Regions from separate parts of the Homo sapiens genome. Here all the other regions are linked to region 2. Evidence: promoter capture Hi-C in human tissues and cell types (Jung and others, 2019). All regions are on one chromosome and are shown on one strand. The core of a region is centred on a gene start or on the middle of the fragment in contact, and the rest is flanking DNA. Distances in the headings are between cores, read along the strand shown. Region 1 overlaps NFYC (nuclear transcription factor Y subunit gamma). Region 2 holds the start of ZNF684 (zinc finger protein 684). Region 3 overlaps SMAP2 (small ArfGAP2).

Region 1 (2,700 bases), core at 41-2,540, 190 kb after region 2:
TCAAGCGATCCTCCTGCTTTGGCTTCCCAAAGTGCTGAGATTACAGGCATGAGCCACCGTTCCCAGCCCAAGGAGACATATTCTAAGAATTGAAGGCCGGGCGCGGTGGCTCATGCCTGTAATCCCAGCACTTTGGGAGGCCAAGGTGGGCGGATCAGGAGGTCAGGAGATGGAGACCATCCTGGCTAACACGGTGAAACCCTGTCTCTACTAAAAATACAAAAAAGTTAGCCAGGCGTGGTGGTGGGCACCTGTGGTCCCAGCTACTTGGGAGGCTGAGGCAGGAGAATGGTGTGGACCCGGGAGGCGAAGCTTGCAGTGAGCCAAGATCATGCTACTGCATTCCAGCCTGGGTGACAGAGTGAGATTCCATCCCAAAAAATATATATAAATAAATAATTAATTTAAAAAAAGAATTTAAATGTTTTTGGATTAGTGTGGAGAGAAAACCTAGTATAGCTATTGATCATTGACACACCCAAGGATTTAAATTTGGAACGTTCCCATGTTCAGCTTGAATTCTTTGCTTTTTTGGAACTAGTACATTTGTTCCAAATTTAATAGTTTAAAGGGCTTAAAAATTATTTCATGTTTATAAAAGAGATAGGAGAACATCTTTCTCTATTTTAATATGTATTTCCATGCATCTGAAACTAGGCTTTTTAAAGAAATATGTCAAAAGCAAAGTAAGTCTAAATTATAGAGAAAAAGAAGCTAGTTGGTCTTTAGGCTCGGTACTGTATCTGGGACTCTTCAGACCAGTAGTTGGTGTCTTGTCTAGCTTCAGGCAGCCATGATGATATGATGCCATCTGGCATTTGTATGAAGCTTGCTATTTTTTGAGGCCTTCTAACATGTGTTTTACCATTTGTGTGTTTCAGCTGCTCTGTGGGATGTTGCTTTAGATGAATAGAGAAGTTTCTAAGAAGTTAAGAGATTTGCTCAAGATCACAGTTCGCCAGAGAGCTAAGAACCCCCAGGTCCAATACATTTTATTTATTTATGTATTTACCTCGTGCTTTAGTGCCCCCAACTGTTCGCAGCTGAGTATTCATAGGTGCTGCTAACCTGCCTAGAGACATGCAAAGGGGAAGGATAAAACAGAAAAGAAAAAAGAGTGACAGCTTAAACAGTGCAAAAAGTGGGAAAGAGCAAGTTATAATAAATCAAGACAGAATTTTAGAGCTTTTGCATTTTGACTCATCATTTATTGTATTGTGATCTTGAGCAAGTAATTTGATATTCAACCCTCAACCTTATCTGTAAAATTGGAATAATATTGGTAAATTTATCACTGAGCTAAGTAAGGGTCAATTGAGGATGATGTATGTGGCATGTATTTTATGAACTCTGAAGCCCGTAAGTTGGCATCTATGAAACATTCTTCAGAATCACACTTCTTCCCTCTGCTAGACACACAAACACAGGATACTGCCAGAAACTGGGCAAGAGGCTGTTTGTGAATCTCAGAAGGCACCCGGTAAGAAAATGATGCTTTGTTTTAGAATACAACTTAACTTAGGCTACAGGCACTCTTTCTGTCTCTAGCTCATGTCACAATTCCTTTTCGGGATTGAGGCCTGAAAAACCAGTTACTCACCATTCTTCCTACAAGGATTTATTTACTCGTTAGGCTGGAGGGTCAGAGAGACTAACAGATACTTCTGTGGGGCAGAGGGGGTCTGGCCCAGCTTACTTCTAATTGAGGATGAACAGGTGAGGGAGGCAGGGGAGCTAAGTAACAGTTGTGTGATCTAGGACCAGCTTCTCAACTTCTAGTGTCAGTTTCCCCATCAGTAAATCAGGGATAAATAAAACACCTAACAGTGCTTTAAAACAAGATCAGAATATTATCTGAAACTTTTTCTTTTCTTTTCTTTTTTTTTTGAGACAGGATCTTGCTCTGCTGTTCCTGCTCAGGCTGGAGTGCAGTGGCGCAATCATGGCTCACTGCAGGCTTGACCACCCAGGCTCAAGCAGTCCTCCCGCCTCAGCCTCGTGAGTAGCTGGGACTACAGGTGTGGGCCACTACACCTGGCTAGTTTTTTATTTTTTATTTTCTATTGAGATGGGGGTCTCACTATGTTGCCCAGGCTGATCTCGAGCTCTTGGGTTCAAGTGATCCTCCCGCCTTGGCCTCCCAGAGTGCTAGGATTAGAGGCATGAGCTACCATGCCTGGCTGAACCTTTTTCCTTAAAGGGCCAGATATTTTAGGCTTTGTGGCTGTATGATTTTTGTTGTAACTCTTCAACTCTACTGTTTAGCATGAACAGACAATATAAACTAATTAGGGGCTGGACATGGTGGCTCACGCCTGTAATCCCAGCGTTTTGGGAGGCCGAGGTGGGCAGATCACTTAAGGTCAGGAGTTCAAGACCAACCTGGTCAACATGGTGAAACCCGTCTCTTCAAAAATACAAAAATTAGCTGGGTGTGATGGCGGGTGCCTATAATCCCAGCTGCTTGGGAGGCTGAGGTGGGAGAATCGCTTGAACCCGGGAGGTGGAGGTTGCAGTGAGCCGAGATCGTGCCATTGTACTCCAGCCTGGATGACAGACTGAGGCTCCGTCTAAAAGTAAATGAATAAATAAATAAATAATTAGGGTTGATGTCTTCCAGTGAAACTGTTTCTAAAAACAGGCTGTAGGCCAGATGTGGCCTATGAGCTGTAGTTTTTAGACCCTTGCTTTAGAATACTT
Region 2 (2,700 bases), core at 165-2,664:
TTTTGTTTTATTTTATTAACTAATTCATTTATTTGAGACAGAGCCTCGCTCTGTCGCCCAGGCTGGAGTGCAGTGGTGTGATCTCGGCTCACTGCAACCTCTGCCTCCCGGGTTCAAGTGATTCTCCCGCCTCAGCCTCCCAGGTAGCTGGGTTTACAGGCGTCTGCCACCACGCCCGGCTAATTTTTGTATTTTTAGTAGAGACGGGGTTTCACCACGTTGGCCAGGCTGGTCTCCAACTCCTGACCTCAGGTGATCTGCCCACCTAAGCTTCCCAAAGTGCTGGGATTACAGGCGTGAGCCACTGCGCCCAGCCTAGATCCTTTTAATTAGTACATAAACTTACTATAATTTCTTCCATCTTTTTTATTTTATTTTTTTGAGACAGAGACTAGCTCTGTCGCCCATGCTGCAGTGCAGTGGCGGGATCACGGCTCACTGCAGTCTCTACTGTCTGGGCTCAAGCGATCCTCCCATCTCAGCCTCTCAAGTAGTTGGGACTTCAGGCGGGTGCCATGCCAGGCTAGTTTTTTATTTTTTGTAGAGATGAGGGTCTCACTATGTTGCCTAGGCAGTTTCAGACTCCTGGGCTCAACCAATCCTCCCACTTTGGCCTCCTGAAATGTTAGGATTACAGGCATAAGCCACCACACTCAGCCCCATCTTTGAATTAAAAAAAAAAAAAAAATTAGAACGTGGAAAAACGCAACAACAAAAGATTAACAAAATCCCTATCCCATGATAGCCTTATTTTTCTGCTCACCTTAAAAACAAAACTTCTTAAAAGTATTGCGTATATTTGCTTTCTCCATTTCCTCTCCTCCCATCCTTCCCTCCAACTCCTATCAAATTTTCATCAGACTTTATCAAACTTCCACCACTGCCAAAATGGCGTTTCAACATCACTGGTGACCATTGCTACAGTGGCCCATTCTTAATTCTCATTTTACTTGACCTATGAGCAACATTTGAGACAATGGGTCACTCCCTTCTTGAAACACTTCCTTCCCTTGGTTTTGCAGATCTAAACTCTCCTACTTTTCCATCTACTTCATGGATTATTCCTTCTCAGTCTTCTTTGTTGGATCCTCTTCACCTCTCCGACTTAACCTGGTGCATTGCTAGAAGAAACCCTGCTGAGTAAGAGCAAATTGTTTTTAGCATACCGCCGATTTTACTTTCCAGTATTTAAAAATGCTGTGTATCCTTTTAAATGAAAACGACTTAAAAAGCGTGGCTCTCAGGCTAGCAATAGAGATACCAACCCGGGAATCTCCGCACCACCCCCCAAGAGGAAGCAGCGTCTGACGTCTTCCGGAAACGAGCTCCACTGGCCTTATGGGAAATGTGGTCTCCGACGGATGGCCTACACCCGGGAGGAGTCCAGGAACTCTAGGTGGACAGTTACTTCCGCACACGCGTAGTAGGACGGTAGCCGGTATTCAATCTTCAAATCAGCGCCGCGGGAAGTGCGGGCGGGTGTTGCTCCCCTGTCTCTGGACGACGCTGTGACTGATCCCAGGCTTGGAGCCGGAGCTGCGAGCGAGGCAGTGAAAGGGTGGCAGGTATGGCTTTGCTGGACTCGGAGGACGTAAGAGAAAGGCGGGGACTGGCTTCTAGGTTTACCCTACCGAAGATAAAACTTTAGTCTCCAAGCGCAGTGACTTCAGGTTTGGATATGTGGGTCCTGTTCAACTCGAGTAGCTGAGAGAAAGCAAGAGTTGGGCTCCGACTGGCACTGGGTAGATGTCCAGGGCTCTGGTGGGACTGGGAGAGGCTCAATTTGCATTCCTGCTCTTGTAGGTCAAGGTCACTATGTAGGAGTCTGTTCATCTAACTGTACCTTTCCTGGTTCCAAGAGCATAGTTGGCCCGACTGGAGCCTGCGACAATTTTAAGCCGTGTCAAGGGATCCAGTGGAAACTGTAAGCTATTTCAAGGGATCCAGGAAGAAAGCATTCTTGAGAAACTGCTATGGATTAGAAGGGTATTCTCAGCAATCATTTGAAGTAAATGCTATTACCATTTTGCATATGAGTTAACTGAAGCTGAAAGGTGAAATTACTTGCCTGGACTCACACAGCTTAGTAAGTGGAAGAACTGAGATTCAAACTCAGATACATTTTCTCCAAATTTCTTTTTTTTTTTTTTTACAGTATAGCATTCCTGCATAAAACAGAGTTGGGTTTATTCTCCTGAAATGTTTGAGCAATGAATGCTGAGTAAATTTCGATTTGTAGTCATTTTGTAGAGTCTCTTGGTGTATCTGCAGATCTTCCAGTGCAGACTGTGTAAATGAAGATGTGAGTCCCCGGTTTGCCCATTATACCCTTTCTAGAGCCCCAGCAGTTCTAAGCTCATAGGAGATGGCGAGTTTCTACAGAGAGAAACATTTGGAGTTTAAACTGAAGGATCCAGCTTAACAAAAAAAAAATAAAAAAAAGTGTTCCTGGGTCCCTGAATCCAGCCTTCTCAAGAAAGCCCAACCTAATTTGCAATCTCTTATCCCAGCGTCAGAGTAGAAACCAGAGAATCACAGGAAGGAATCATTTTTAGACTTACGGAGCTTCAGAGACCAAGCTTTTAAGTGAGTCAACTCATTCATTATTTCTTCAGGATAAATTTCTGGGAGGAAAAAAAATAACTGTTTCAAGAGGAACCACTTGGTGCTAGATCAGTAGGACAGAAACATATAACATCC
Region 3 (2,700 bases), core at 29-2,528, 140 kb before region 2:
ATGAAATAATCTCTTTCCTGCCCTCAATGAAAGCAGCTATTTTTTGTGTCCTCCCTCCCCTATTCAGAGAAGCCATGTCTCATCCACCACTCTTCCAGCTTATTCATAAATGCTTTAAGCAGGGTCTTTGTGTAAAGGAAATTGGCTGGAGCTGAAATATCATAGGCTAACCAGGAGACAAGGAGCATTAAGGACACCCTTTTCCTTGACTTTCTATTTAGGGTATTTAAATTACCTTTCTGTGATTTTCTGTAATAAGCAATCTAAAACTTAAATCCACATAAGCAAAATAGTCATACTAGGTTTTTAAAAAGTATACTAAATTAGGCCGGGCTCAGTGGCTCATGCCTGTAATCGCAGCACGTTGGGAGGCCGAGGCAGGTGCATCACTAGGTCAGGAGATCGAGACCATCCTGACTAACATGGTGAAACCCCGCTGTCTCTACTAAAGACACAAAAAATTAGCCAGGCGTGGTGGCATGCACCTGTAGTCCCAGGTATTCGGGAAGCTGAGGCAGGGGAATAGCTTGAACCCGGGAGGCGGAGGTTGCAGTGAGCCAAGATCACACCACTGCACTCCAGCCTGGGTGACAGAGCGTGAATCCATCTCAAAAAAAAAAAAAGTATACTAAATTAGTATAATTTTATTGTTGTTGTTACCTAAAGGAGCTCTCAAAAATAAAAGCTGGCCAGGCGTGGTAGCACATGCCTGTAGTCCCAGCTACTCAAGAAGCTGAGGTGGGAGGATTGCTTGAGCATAGGAGATTGAGGCTGCACTGCACTCTAGCTTGGGCAACAAAGCAACAAACCCTATCTTAGAAGAACAAACAAAAAACCCAACAACAGAACAACCACAAATGAGTGAGTGCAGCAGGAGAGGCAGCAGAGCGCCGTGGGAGTTGGAATAGGAAGGAGAAAAGGCTTCATGGGGAAAGTGGGCAGAGCAAGATTTGCACAAAAAGATGTTTTGCAAATAGAGGAAATAGGCCCTGTAAAGCTATTTGTGAGAGACTGTAAGTTGATCAACAAAGTGTAAGTAGTTCTTCTAACTTTTTTTTTTTTTTTTTTTTTTGTGACAGAGTCTTGCTCTGTCGCCCAGGCTGGAGTACAGTGGCTCAATCTTGGCTCACTGCAACCTCCACCTCCCAGGTTCAAGCGATTCCCCTGCCTCAGCCTCCTGAATAGTTAGTATTACAGGCGTGAGCCACAATGCCTGGCTAATTTTTGTATTTTTAGTAGAGATGGGGTTTCAGCATGTTGGCCAGGCTGGTCTTGAACCCCTGACCTCAGGTGATCCACCGGCCTTAGCATCCCAAAGTGCTGGGATTAAGGCGTGAGGCACCGCGCCCGGCCACTTCTAACCTTTTTAAGGAGTATTTGCGTGAACAGAATCAATGAGTTTCTTCAAATTAACTTCTGACAATAATCTAAATGGTCTCCATTTTCTGATTCACCCTTTTTTCCAATTCCAAGTTGCCATTATCCATGTAATTGGCTCTAAAGAGAGCAAGGAAATCTATCTTCTCCAGGAGTTTCAGTCATAGATTTTTAGCTGGCTCTCTTTATCATTTGCAACTGAGTTCATTCATATGCTTGTTTTCAAGAATTTTTTCCTTTAGTTCCAGAACTCTTTGCTTCCATCCTATGGTTTCTTGGGAGGACAGTTCTAAGCTTTCTTAAGATAAGTGTTTCAATCACACCATCTACCATTTCCCTCAGAAGTTGTTCTCCTCTTATGCGGTGTGTTTAGGTGTTTGGGGCGCCAATCACTAGGGATTGGAAGGATTTTGATGAATCTTCAAGTAACCATGTCTTGAAGGTTAGCCATCATCAGTTCACTCCATGAAATGAAAACTTACGGGGATCCACTTTTGCTCTTTTTTGAAGAAGTCTATTGTCCTCAAAGGAAGAGGTGGACCTGTTCAGATTTTTAAGTTTTATCTTATTCAGTGTTTGTAGCATCAAGGGACTGGCCTCTAACGGAAGCAACTGGGGGCTTCATTGGCTTATGCAATCAGTCTCATCTCACTGACTTTACAAGGTTCTTCAATACTGGCAGAAAATCTCTTGGCTAGCTCTTTCTCCCTCCTTAAAATATGTTGGCTCTTTACTATAAAAACAATCATAGCAGCACATACCAGAATCTCCTAGGGAAACCCCCAAAGACTTGGGCCTTGTCTCAGCTCTCAGACACTACCACCAAGAGCACTGCATAGCTTTCCCAGGACCAACTGGAAAGAATTCTTTTTTACGACGATGTAATTGACAATGAAAATTGTATATGTTTACAGTATACAATGTGGTGTTTTGATATATGTGTACATTGATTTTTGTGGCAGTCAGGAGGTCCTCTAGTTGGAACAGAGACTCACCACACCCAAGAGTCCCTCTGTCTGTATCCCATCCCCAAATCAGAAAAAGGCCTGTGCGTCTCTGTGGGTAGTATTCACTCTCTCAGATTCCTCTGTGAGTCAGGAACATGACAAGTGGCATCTATATACACAGTTTTAAGAGGAAGTGATGTCACTCTTGGTGTATAGAAGTGAGAAGAGGAGTAATGAGAATTAAAGACCCAGATCACAGGAGAATTTAAGCCATACTTAGAAGTTTGGAGTTCAGTTGATGGTGGGGGGTCCAGTGACATAGCTTTGAATGGGGTGATGACATTATCAGGACATATGTTGGCAGAATGTCCTTTTC

What was found. The method cuts DNA at HindIII sites, captures the fragments that hold promoters and counts their contacts. A contact is called where the count stands out against the background at its distance.
Region 1: a contact is called between a fragment that was not itself captured here and the fragment with the promoter of ZNF684 in region 2, in 1 of the 25 tissues and cell types used here (H1 embryonic stem cells).
Region 3: a contact is called between a fragment that was not itself captured here and the fragment with the promoter of ZNF684 in region 2, in 1 of the 25 tissues and cell types used here (liver).

The regions. Positions count from the first base shown.
Region 1 is chr1:40,721,795-40,724,494 of GRCh38, forward strand. The region is part of intron 1 of NFYC (nuclear transcription factor Y subunit gamma); the gene reads left to right. Among named protein-coding and RNA genes, the nearest start is that of NFYC-AS1, 31 kb to the left of the region's middle. The HindIII fragment of the contact is 5,530 bases long and covers 1-2,700 here.
Region 2 is chr1:40,530,223-40,532,922 of GRCh38, forward strand. ZNF684 (zinc finger protein 684) reads left to right here and starts at 1,415. Exons shown (of 5, transcript NM_152373.4): 1 at 1,415-1,565. LOC124904149 (a long non-coding RNA gene) reads right to left here and starts at 1,324. Exons shown (of 2, transcript XR_007066022.1): 1 at 1,266-1,324; 2 at 356-1,133. RefSeq lists an enhancer at 1,215-1,509. The HindIII fragment of the contact is 10,888 bases long and covers 1-2,700 here.
Region 3 is chr1:40,392,492-40,395,191 of GRCh38, forward strand. The region is part of intron 1 of SMAP2 (small ArfGAP2); the gene reads left to right. Among named protein-coding and RNA genes, the nearest start is that of SMAP2, 20 kb to the left of the region's middle. The HindIII fragment of the contact is 3,132 bases long and covers 1-2,700 here.